Linked DNA regions of Homo sapiens: all the other regions are linked to region 2. Evidence: promoter capture Hi-C in 16 types of primary human blood cells and fetal thymus (Javierre and others, 2016). All regions are on one chromosome and are shown on one strand. Each heading gives the region's core, a stretch centred on a gene start or on the middle of the fragment in contact. The rest is flanking DNA. Distances are from core to core; before and after follow the strand shown.

Region 1 (4,104 bases), core at 296-2,795, 1.3 Mb after region 2:
TTAAAATGAAACGTGAAACAAAGGCAATACAACCTCTCGGTAAAGATGACAAAACCTCATATAGTCAAATCCTCTTACCCTAAAACGTTAACAATGTATAAATATCCGATGTCAGTGGATCACATTCTCAAATACCGAGTTCAATAAAGTAGAAAAAGATGACAAGGATAAAAATGTACTGGACCGTAGTTTCCCGTTTACCCTGTTAAGGAATGGCTCATTCACTCCGCTTGCCTTTTGAATTGCTTTGTACTGTGACGAAGCCTTTTAAGTTAGCTTCAAATTAATATTTAGCTGCAAAACAAAGGCATTCTCTAGATCCACTAATCCCTAATCAAGGAAAACAACAACAACAAAAAATCATACTAATACACCAGAGGTAGTAAACGCCTTTCAGAACAGAGCTGTGGATTGGGGCTTCCCAAGCCCCGAGAAGCCGACAGAGCAGGAAGCAAGCAAGAAGGTGGGATGGAGGCTTCAGAGCCCGGCAGCTCACCTGTTGATGAAACCATATCCGTTCCTTACATTGAACCATTTTACTGTTCCCAAAACCTTCGTTGCTGGAAAAGAAAACAAAGCAAAACAAGCCACGATTACCAGCTATCCTTTTCCAAATCCGCCCGGCTTGGGCATCCGGTCCCTCGCACGCCGGCCGCCGCGGCCACCTGACAGCCCTTTCTCTCCACCGCCCGGGTGCGGGGCCACGCAGTCGCCGCCGCCGCCGCACACGTGGGTGAGTCTGAAGCGCGGGGCGCTCCAGGGCAGGCCCGGGGCGCGGGCCCCAGGATGGGTGTGTGCGCAGGCCGCGGACGGAGAGCACGTGAGGGAAGGGGAAGCCGCTCCGGCCTGCGTAGGCGGTGCGCCGCGCCCTCCGAGCACACGCGGAAGGGAGCTGGGTGGGGGTGACGCGAACAACGGCGTGCGGGCCCGAGCGCACGAGGCCGGTCGGCGGGGAGGGGACCCCGTCGCACACGCGGTCGGCGGCGCGCGGCCGCAGGGGGAGGGGCGCGCGGCCGCGCGGGGTCCACAGGGGGCGCGGGAGGCAGTGCGCGCGCGCCTGCCGGGCGGGTCCCCGCGAGAGGGAGTGAGGGGGGGACGGGGGGGATGGGCGGCCGCGCGCCGCGGAGTCGGTGCCCACCGGCCGCGCGCCCGCCGGCTCGCCCAGCTCCGGCTAACGGTTCCGCTGCTGGGCTGCCCGAGGGCCCCACCCCCGTCCCTGTCCGGTCCTCACCGATGACCTTCTTGTCCCCGCCGGCAGGCGCCGCCGATGTGAGGCCGCCCGGGCCACCGCTCCCTGCGCCGCTGCCCGTAGTGCCGGGCTTGGTGTCGGCGGCGCTGAGGGCGGGGGCGGCGGGGGGGGCGGCGGGCGGCTGCTGGGTCTCGGCCTCGCTGCTCATGGTTGCGGTGATGGTGACTGGGGCCGGCTGCGGCAGCTGCGGCTCCTCCCGGGGTGTGATGGTAACTAGGCCGGCGGCGGCGGTGGGGCTGCTCAGGGCTCTCTGGGGTCCGCTCTCCGCTCCCGCTACCGATCGAACTAGCGAGAATGGCGGGACAGGCGGGATAAGCCCTACGAGCGACCCGCCCTAGGCGTTGTTCACTGGCCAGTGGTACTGTCAATCTGCCCACCTGACCCCAATCCCTAGCTTCTATTGGCTAATATTTTATCAGTCCTCCATTCTCATTGGACCTTTGGCGGCTAATTCAGTCGACCTACAACCGTTCCTGCCTCCGCCGGCCGCCATAGAGACCGGAACTAGAATTAGAGTAGTCGGCCACGAAAACCATAGAGTACCCGAGAGGACGGGCAGAAGGAACGTGACTTCCACGAGGCAGCCGCCGGGCTGGCGGGCCCCACGTTCAGGGTTGTGTCTCGGCTGAAAAAAAGGCACGCCCGAACGCTGGGCAGGGATTACCCGGCCGGACCCGGGATTGGAAGGGGGCTCGAAGACGCCTTAGCCCCCCGTGAAGAAAAGGCTTCCCTCCCTCCCAGCTCCAAATACGGTCCCTGTGATCTGAGAACATTACGGCGGGCATAGAGTCGTCTTTTCTTTAATGGCCGTGTAGTCGCGGCACAGCCGAGGGTTTCTGGAATTGCCTTAAACGTATGCGTTTGAAGAGCGTACCCTTTTGTCGGAGCAGTCACCTTGGAGGGACCACGCAGGCTATGGCAGCCCGGGTTCAGCATGTTTAGGGCGAGGGTGTGCTCCATGGGGACCTGCCTTCTGATCCGTTTTACCAGGCATATATTTAAAAAAATGTGTCTTCCTTTCCAAGTATTCACATCTTTTTCTACTGACCACAAATCAGATTTAATTCAACTCACATTTATTGAACAAGCTAGCCTGTTTTGTTTTTTCACTTTATTCCTGCAACAGCCACGTGATAGAGGGATTACTATCCACGTTTCACAAACGATAAAATTGAGGCTGCCACCTGATGTTACTGAAGTCCTCCACCCACCTTCTTTCGTTCTTTTTTAAGCGTCTACTATCGGCTGGGGATGGAATAGTTCGCGAGTCAGTTTCTGCCTTCTGATGGAGGCAGAAATTTAAACAGCCAACACGGTAAATACTCCAGAGCTGCAAAACCACGAAGTATTTTGGGAGTGGAAGCAGGGAGAAGGTGGAGGGCTGACTTTCCGCGCACAGGGTACAGGCGAGAAGAGGTGAGATCTCGGGAAATGCAGTCAAGTAGTTCAGTAAGACTCGAATGTGACATTGGGTTGCAGAGGTGGGCAGTCACTTAGGTATATTTAATTGGAAATATATCCTGAGGGGAAGAGTGAGAAGAGCAATTTTAGAGTCATAAGTAGGGAGGGGCATCTTTTTAAAAATGGCTGCGGAGTGGAGAATGGGTTGCAGAGGGGCAAGGAATGGAAGTAGAGAAAGCAGTTAGGAGGCTAATGCAGTATTCCTTACCCCTACCAATGCCGTCTAGGCCTGTGAGTTCCACCTCCTAAAGGCGTTCTTGAGTCAGTCCTAAACCCTCTAAATGTCAATTCAGAGTCTTTTCATTCCTACTGTCACTACTGTAGGCCATCATCACCAATTGCTTAGAGCAAGGGGTAGGAACCTTTTTCTGTGAGAGCCAAATAGTTAATAATATAAGCTTGGCCGACCATATGGTTCTGACTTACTACTCAGGTTTGGAGCTTGAAAACAGCCTTAATTTTTACATGACACGAATCTTTACATATTTTCAACTATTTAAACATTTTAAAAACCATTTGTATTCTTAGCTCATGAGCCACAGAAAAACGGAGTGTAGTCGGCTGACCCCTAGCATAGAGCAGTGCTGTTGGCTACTAACCACACCTCTCTACCTCTTTCTTACTCTAATATTACCCACCACAACAGCCAGAAAGTTCTTTTGAGAACATCTATCTGATCATGACACTGTCTTACTTAAAATCTTCCAGTGACTACTATTACCCTTAGGGTAGTCCAGATTCCATAATGTGGTTTACTGGACTCTATGACTTCTAAGAGAAGTCTTAGAGTCTTCTCTTGTATTCCCTGTCCAACCTTCCAGGTGCTTGTAACTACTGGCTGCAGGATACTGCAGGAGCAGAGGTAGCAAACAGCTGAATTCTATGAAAATAGAAATTGGTTAAAAGTGTTGCTTCAGTGTATCAGATGACAAGGGAGATGGTGAAATATTACAAGGGCCCTACAGAATAGACACTTGCAACTCTCCAGCCAAGTAAACATGCTTCAGAGGACATCGTAGAGAAAGGACTGTCATCTAGTGGAGTCCTTTAGCCACTGTTACGTTTGGAGTATTACATAAAATTCTACATACAACACTCTTCCTTTCCTCCTTCCTCTTTGCCTGCTTAATTCTTCATCCTCTAGGTCTTGGCTCAGATGCTACTAGGTTAAGAATCCCTCCCATCTTAACACACTGTATTGCTCTAATTAAATGTTCCCCACCAGACTGTGACTTCCTTGGGCATCTTAGTGCCTGACACATAATACCTTAAAAGATTCGTTAAATGAGCGACATGGTGTAGAACATGAATTGAAAAAGGTACTGGCAGCAGAAGGGTCATCTGGGCAGCTGTGCCAGTAATCCAGGTGAAAAAGGCTTTCAGCAGCAATGTGT
Region 2 (3,866 bases), core at 947-3,446:
ACCTCAGGGAGCCCGGAGCTAGAGGCGGTGGCGTTGGGCCGGGAGCAGTTGCTGCTGCTGCTGCTGCTGCTAGCAGCTGGGTGGAGGGCATGGGCAGGGCCTCGGGCACTGAAGCGGCTGAAGAAGGCCAGGTGCTGGGCGTAGACGTCAAAGTAGAGGATGACGGCCACGAGGAAGTGCAGCAGGCAGAGAAGGAGCACAGCCTTGCAGACGCGCTCCAGCGTCCCCCCCAGCAGTCTGCTCATCCCGCAGGCGGCCACTGGCCCGCCCAGTGGGCCCGGGCATCCGGCTGCTGGCCTGAGCAGGGTGGGAGGGAAACAGATCCAGCAGGTCAGGGCAGGACAGGCAAGGCTGCCCACCTACCTCCCACTCAGCTGCTCACACTCGTGGGCCACACCTCACACTGACCTGCTCATACCCTTTCACACTCACAGACTCAAGAATTTACCTCCAAACAGACACCCAGGCACAGTTCCCGGCAACTCAGTACTCACATCCTCAAGCACACCCCACTACTAAGCCACATACATTTACCTTCCTCCACCTCACTGACACACACACTCAGGCACTCACCCTTATTGCACAACTCTACACACACACTCACGCATTCCCAGGAACACAGACACGTGAACTCTAACCACACTGGTTTGTACCTAAGCATGGAGACATGTTTACCTATAGACCCCCATGTGCCCCTGTGCCCCTGAGAACAGACACCTCACATGGCAGCATCCTTAACCCAGAACTCATGGCTTGGGGAAGAGGGAAGAGACGGAATACTGTGCACCTACCATGCAGGAGCACTTTATACTCATGACTTCATTTAGTCCTTCCAGGAGCCATGGTGGGAAGTGGTTTGGTCATTCAGATCCCAGCGACAAGCAGGCCAGGCCAACTGGGACCAGGCTGGGAAGTTGCCCTCAGCATCCGGGGGGCCCAAATACAGACTGGATGTTTACAGAATCCCTTCCCACTGGAGCAAAACGTCAAAATACGGGGCAAGGCAGGGGACACCCCTCACTTAAGACCTCAAAGCCAGCCCCTTGGGACTGGGACCAAGACTCTGGGTCCTGCCCAGCACAGCTGGTTCTGATTCCCGGAACGGGATGCTTGGGCCTGGAGATGGGCACAGCACTGGGCATGGCAGGAAGGGGGTCTTGCCTGGGCGATGGCTCCAGCTGTGGTTCCAAGAGAGCGGCAGCCACTTCTGGCAGTGCTTCAGGGAGCAGGGTGAGTCTCACAGGCACACAGAATCACAGGGACACCCTGGTCCCAGCTGGTCACCCACACTCAGACACACAGAGAACTACAGTCACAGACACACCCGGGTGACAGTAACACACTAAGTCCCACACTCACAAACAAGGCCACTGCTCCTGGACTTCCACAGCCATACATCCAGACTCTCAGACAGCTCACACCCAGACCCACGTGCAGACATTCCCACCCTCCCTCCGGCGCAGGGGTTCTGGGTCAGGCTGGCGGCCAGGCTGAGGGGTGCGTTTGGGCGGGGCTGGCAGGCTGAACACGTGGCACCCGCGGACGGGCAGGCCGCACAGACCGGGTGGGTGTGGAGCCTGGGGGCAGGGGGAGTGGGTGGAGGGCAGCGGATGAGGCAAAGGCCAAGGGGAAACGTGTATGGAACGCCTCCCCGCGCCACGAGGCCGGGGCGAGCGAGGACAATGAGGGAGGCCGGCTGGACGCGGGCGGAGAAGCCCAGGAGGGGCGCCGGAGTGGGGGCGGGGTGGGGGCAGCCAGGCCGGGGTCTGGCCGCCGGCGCCTCTCTCACCGGCTCCTGGGTTGGGATCTCGGGGCCGCGCTCGGGGTGCCCCTCGCGGGGCTGGGTCTGGAATCTCGGGGCCCTGGGTGGGGGCCGCGCGCGCCCTCCTCTCACCCGGCGCTCGGGGCTCAGCAGGGGACGCCGCTCCGACTTGGGCAGGGCTCCCGGCTCCGGCGGCTGCGGACGGTTCCGTCCCCCATGGCCCGGCCCCGCCGCCTCCCGCCGCCCGGTCAGCGGCCACCGCGGCCCCCGGGTCGCCTCCCGCCGCCGCCGCCGCCGCCGCCGCCGCGGGCCATGGAGCCGAGCCGCCCCGGGGGGCAGGGCGGGGCCGGGCGGCCGGGCAGACCCACGGACCGGCGGACCCACGGACCACAGCGCCGCCGCCTCCCTCCCGCGCTACGGCGCCTCGGAGGGGCAGGCCCGGCCCGCGCGCCCGCGCGCGCGCCCCCGCGGCCCCCGCCTCCAGCACGCCCGCACCCGCCGCGCGCCGCTGCGAGCCCGCCCTGCCGGCGGCCGAACCCGGGCACCCAGGAGGCACGGACCTGGGAGCGCGGGAGGAAATGGGTCAGGCTCGTCCAAAGGGTGGGCTTAGAGGTCGGACCGGCGAGCGGGTGCAGACCGTGGAGTCCCTTAGCGGGGAGTGGGGATTGCATTGGAGCGCGAACTCCCCAGGAAGGGGACCTGGAGGTTGGGCGGACTCAGGCTGCGGGGCTAGGGATTTGTCAACTCTTTAATTGGACCAAGATTCAAGGTCGGCCAGCAGAGAGGGGGCAGGACCCTTAAAGGCGTGGGCTGGAGGTGGCTGGGGCTTCTGGGGTAACAGGAAACAGGGTCAGGGAAGGAGAAAACGAGATTGGATGGGGTGGGAGGAGCTGCCCTGGGCCCTGGGAACAAGGATCAGAGTAGAGGTTTCTGGGAGGGGCTGCTGCTAGAAGGACAGGACCATCACTGGAGGCAGAGACCACTGCCTAGGCTCCAGGCCTCACAAGGACGGAGATGATGGTGCCCGACTGTACAACCAGGTAAGTAGATGCTGTCAGACAATTCGGGCATGGTGGTCAGTCAGAGCCCTGAGCAAACGGGCCTAGAAGGACTACAGGCACAAACACACCCAGGGGCCCCTATCTGCACACTCCCTCATCCCCAAACAAGTCTGTTTGGGGGTTAGAGTCCACCCAGCACCCGTGCCTCCCCACCTAGGAGCAAGCTCTGTGCAGATCAGAAGTGTGCAGTCAGAAAGCTGACAAGGGATTGGCATGAGGCTGAGGCGTACAGGCCTCTTTACCCTTCCTCTGTGAACGGTGACGCAAGAGGGCAACAGAAGCTGCACTGACCCAGACAAATACCAAGTTTATTTCACAAACACTAGGAAGATGGGTTGAGGGTGGAGGTGGGGGACACAGGTGCGCAGCTGCACAGAGTCAGCAGCAGCAGCCTGCTCCCCGCACTGAGGACTCGGCCTGGACTGCAGTGCCTCCAAATCAACACGCAGCAAGAGGGGAGTGCAGGGAGGGCCCTGAACACCAAGCCTCTGAAAGGCTAAGGGACACAGCTCCAGCTGTCCCAGGAAAACCAGCAATAAATAAAAGTGAGGCACGGCCCCACCCACACATATCATCTAGTCACCCATCTTCACTCTGGAGGTCTGCAAAAAAAGAACAGGAGAAATCAGGCAGGGACAGAGGAATAGGTAAGGCAGTGACAAATGATAGAAGATGACATCTAGCACATGGTTGGATGGACAGACCACAAGAGATATATGACTAACCAGGATGGACACACTGTGACAGACAAGGCAGACAGGGACAGACAACCACAGAGTTACGCTGTGGGACAGACGGAGAGAAGTGGCATATGGATAAAGCTAGTCACTAAGAATCAACTCAGTCAAGCACCCACAGTCACACTCAGACCCTCAGGCTGATCCTTAGTCACAAACTCACACACTGTCAGACAGACTAGACACACACAATTTAGACAATGGTGTCCTACTGACAGGCATGTGAGAGGGAGATACACATAGCTCCGAGAGACAGTCAAACACACCATGACAGACTGATATAGACAGACAAAATTCCATTCTAGT
Region 3 (3,921 bases), core at 1,341-3,840, 1.1 Mb after region 2:
TAATAAAACTTTATTTAAAGCAACAGGAGGTGAGCTGTGGTTTGCCAATCCCTGTTAGTGTTCCTTGAAGAATTTAGATAAGAATATGAAAAATAATTGGTTTGCTTTACTTCCAAAAATGCAAGTAAACATGAGAAACTATTCCTTGATACTTAGACACTGTTTCCTGACCATCCTTTAAAAAATTAAAATCACTCCCACACTCCCAGTCCTCCTGCCCCATAGCACATCTTACCTTCTGACATTCTCTTTATGTCTATTATTTATTGTCTGCTTCCCTAAAACATAAGTTCCATGAGAGCTGGTGTCTTTGTTGTTTTTTTGTTTTTTTTTTAATTTACCAATGTAACCAAAACTCCTAGAGTAGTGGCAGCCATATACAGTAGATCCTTCATAAGTATTTGTTGAATGAGTTGAATAAAACACCAGCTCTGTCTTCATGGGACACAAGTAACCATGAACTGTCTCACCCACTTTTCCTCAGCAATCTCCTGATTCCTGCCTACTTTCTCCTTTATGCAGTCACAGAATCTTGTGCTTGGCTTATAGTGGTTTGCAACTACTAGTAGAACATGTCTGTTTCTATTAGTAGTTTATAAGCAACTTGAGGAAAGGGACTGGGTCATATTAGTAATCTCCTTCTGCAGCATAAAGCTGGGTGCTCAAATGTCTTTTGAATGTATAAGTGACAGGATGTGATCTTAATTCACGCCACCATCCCATCCCCCACCCCCTGCCCTGCTCCCATCTGACCTACAGCTACAGTATCTCTACGCAATGAGCTATTCAGCCTCCACTCACTTCCGAAACTGCTATTCTGAGAACCTATAATTTACCAAGTTCCAGCTCTACCCGGGGCTGGATGCTAGGTCAATGTAAGAGCAAAAGGATTTAGGATTATGATTACCACTCAGTTTGTGATACAGTGTACTGAAACAGACCGTGAACTCCAGAAATTGTCATACAATGCAGAAGGTTAAGTTCAGGGGACAGGGGCAGGAACTGTGCCTTAGTCACCTTTGTACCCACTCCTCAGTGTCTAACACAGCACCTGGCACATTATTAACATTTTTTTAAAGCTCGAATCAAGTGCTAAGCTGTGGACTAAGGACCATATATGAATCATCTAATTTCACTTCACATCATCCTTATTTTAGAGATGAGAAAGCTGAGGCTCAGAGAAATTAAGTATCTTGCCCAAGGGCACACAGCAAGTAAGTGGCAGAACTGGGGCCTATGCCCATCACTTCAAAGTCAGTGCTTTTAACCATTATACTATTACTGAAGGAAAAAAGGAGAGAAGACGGGAAGGAAGGAAATAAAAACAGTACCACTGAAGTTCACATGATACAGATGTATCTCCCTGATGAAATCAGGGCTGAGAAGTTTCAAGGAGGAGTAGGTATTTGACCTAAGGTTTGCAGGATGGGTAAGACTGGGACTTGCAGAGATAAAGAGGCAACTACCTACTGAGAAGACAGTGCAGCTGAAGTACAGAGGCACTTTCATATCACACTGCAGAGATCTGGGGGGAAAAGGGGTCTATTGGGCTTTGTCTTCCTGGTGGCTCAGCTGCACAGAGAGAAGCAACGGTGGAAGGGGCTGAGAAGTGGAGGAGGGGCCAGGTCTAAGAAGTTAAGAGCCAAGAAGATGGGGCTAGTGATCACAGATGATGAAGGTGAAGCGCCTAGGTTAAAGGCAAGGGGCCAAGCCATAGTGCGGTATGGAGGTCCGAAGTTACAGGTCTTTGGGGCCAAGTCAAGGGCTGCAGGGAGGAAGAGGAGAGAGGAGCTATGAAAGACCAAGAGCAAGGTGCTAACAGGGTAATTGTACAGGGAAGCTAGATAACGGGTCAGAGATACAGGAGGACCAAGGAAGTCAGAGGGTCGCAGGAGACGGTCAGGGAAGAGGAAGCAAAGGCTGCCAGAAGTGTCACAGGCCAGGGCCCAAGAGCTGAGTTGTGTGTTGCGGGGCGGGGAGAAGCCAATGGCGGAGGTCCAAGGGTACAAGAGCTGGTTTCAGAGATTGCCGGCGGGCTTGGGGCCAGAGAGGTGGGAGAGGAGGAGGGGCTGATCCTAAACGTATGGTCAGCGGCAGGAAGGCTGTATACTCAAACCCAACAGAAGGGCCGGGGAATGGGTTGGGGACAGCCACCTGGCTGCGTGGGCCGGGGGCCAGGGCGAGGGTCGCGGCGGAGGGACCACAAGGCCCCTTGGCTTCCCACTCGGTCCAGGGAGCAAAGCAGCAGCATCCAGATCCTCGGTGAGAGGGAAGTGGCCGTGTACAGAGTTTCCCGCGAAGTCGTGTCCGCCTCCCCCCGCGACCTCGGGCCCAACCCGGACCCACCTCGCTCCCGCCGCTCGATCAGGGACAGCGCCGCCTCTGTAGGCGAGGGAAGGAGCTGGAGCCGGAGCCGGAACCCAGGAAGGATCCGCCCTACTACTCCAGGATTGGTTTCTTGGGATAATTCTTTATTTCCATTGGCTACCATGACTGCCACAACGCAAGCGACCTGGCAGGACCACCAATAAGCTTTGACCGCTGGCGTGGCATGCTGGGAGTTGTAGTCCTAAGGAAGCGCGTAGACTCAGAGAAAACTTGCGAAGTTTAGGATGGAGCTGAAGAGACTGGGTTCCGTCCTACGGTGGGATTTCTTTCCGTGCTCGCGCGTTCAGCCCCAAGTCTCAGGGCCACTCGTCTGGGAAGTTGTAGAATCTGTATAGCCAACCTACACAACCTCCAAGGGGGCAAGTACTCAAATTTCCTTCTTTACTTTGAGTTGGTAATCCTTGACCGTCCTGTAGACGTCCAACGAAGCCTAGAGTCTGGCACCTCACTCAAGGTTTATAACTTAAAATCAAAGGAGGGTAGAGCTGGAAGGGAGTTTAAAGATAAAATAACCCAATCTCCTTATCGGAGAAGCTAAAAGTACCCTGTTCAAGGATCAACCTCCAGGTCTTCCAGCCCCCCTGAGCAGGGATTTTCCCGGGTTCCGCGTGCATCCCTAATTAAGCCTGACACGTGTTCGTCAATCCAGACACAACAAGATCACCAAAGTATCCAGGACTAGGTCTTTTTTTTCAGGTTTTATTTTTTAAAATAATAAAAGGCTAATGAAATACGTAAACTACAGGCTTCTCGTATCTGCACAATGTTTCAGTGCAAAGAACAAGGAGCATTGCCTTCAGAGCTAGATAAACCAAGTATAAAACTCTGGCTCTACCACCTAGCCATTTGGAGTACCAACTCCCTCCCCCATAAAATCCCTGGCAGAATTACTGTGAGGATATTATATATACATACATATATTCTCATGCATGTGTATGTGTATACATATATACATATATATGTATGTATGTTTTATATAGTTGTAAGGTTATAATACATACATATATTGAGGTTATTTCTTGATGACATTAATATTCAAATCAGTAGACTGATATGTATGTACATATATACATGTATAATACACATACATGTGTATATACATATACTAATGTATACATGTGTATATACATGCATACATGTGTGAATATGTATTATACATACATATGTATATATGTGTATACATATACACGTGCATACATGCTAAATACATATACATATATATACACCTATGTAGTACAGATATGTATATACACATACATGTATACATGTGTATATGTGTATGTATGCATATGTGTGTGTATATTATATGTATATTCATGTATGTATGTGTATATGTATGCATGTATTCTGCCTCCACAAGCTGACAATGTGAGTTAGTTTTAAGATTGGGATATTCAGGAATGCATGTTTGGAACTGAATATGGTTGAGTGAAATATGTGTGCCTTATGAACACTATTTGTTTATAAATTGATAAAATAAAATACTAGAGAGCAGACTCAGGAATAAAACTATGGCTTTAGTATGAACGGTGG

Evidence for each region. Contacts are between HindIII fragments. The CHiCAGO score rates a contact against its expected background, and 5 or more counts as called.
Region 1: a contact is called between the fragment with the promoter of YBX1 here and the fragment with the promoter of B4GALT2 in region 2, in 3 of 17 cell types (naive CD8 T cells, fetal thymus and total B cells). The highest score is 6.5, in naive CD8 T cells.
Region 3: a contact is called between the fragment with the promoter of ZNF691-DT here and the fragment with the promoter of B4GALT2 in region 2, in 3 of 17 cell types (fetal thymus, total B cells and total CD8 T cells). The highest score is 6.0, in fetal thymus.

Annotation. Positions count from the first base shown.
Region 1 is chr1:42,679,859-42,683,962 of GRCh38, reverse strand. It overlaps YBX1 (Y-box binding protein 1), which reads right to left and starts at 1,545. Exons shown (of 8, transcript NM_004559.5): 1 at 1,232-1,545; 2 at 497-560. The coding sequence starts at 1,397. It also overlaps a transcript of PPIH not described here. RefSeq lists silencers at 640-789, 900-1,009, 1,200-1,399 and an enhancer at 1,840-1,889. The HindIII fragment of the contact is 3,657 bases long and covers 1-3,110 here.
Region 2 is chr1:43,977,540-43,981,405 of GRCh38, reverse strand. B4GALT2 (beta-1,4-galactosyltransferase 2) reads right to left here and starts at 2,196. Exons shown (of 7, transcript NM_003780.5): 1 at 1,895-2,196; 2 at 1-297. The coding sequence starts at 245. ATP6V0B (ATPase H+ transporting V0 subunit b) reads right to left here. Exons shown (of 8, transcript NM_004047.5): 8 at 3,111-3,425. The coding sequence ends at 3,399. RefSeq lists silencers at 1,823-1,932, 2,203-2,302 and enhancers at 1,720-2,311, 2,312-2,902, 2,903-3,494. The HindIII fragment of the contact is 15,054 bases long and covers 1-3,866 here.
Region 3 is chr1:42,845,083-42,849,003 of GRCh38, reverse strand. It overlaps ZNF691-DT (ZNF691 divergent transcript), which reads left to right and starts at 2,590. Exons shown (of 5, transcript NR_186083.1): 1 at 2,590-2,747. ZNF691 (zinc finger protein 691) reads right to left here and starts at 2,391. Exons shown (of 4, transcript NM_001242739.2): 1 at 2,347-2,391. RefSeq lists enhancers at 2,355-2,424, 2,585-2,854. The HindIII fragment of the contact is 2,341 bases long and covers 2,535-3,921 here.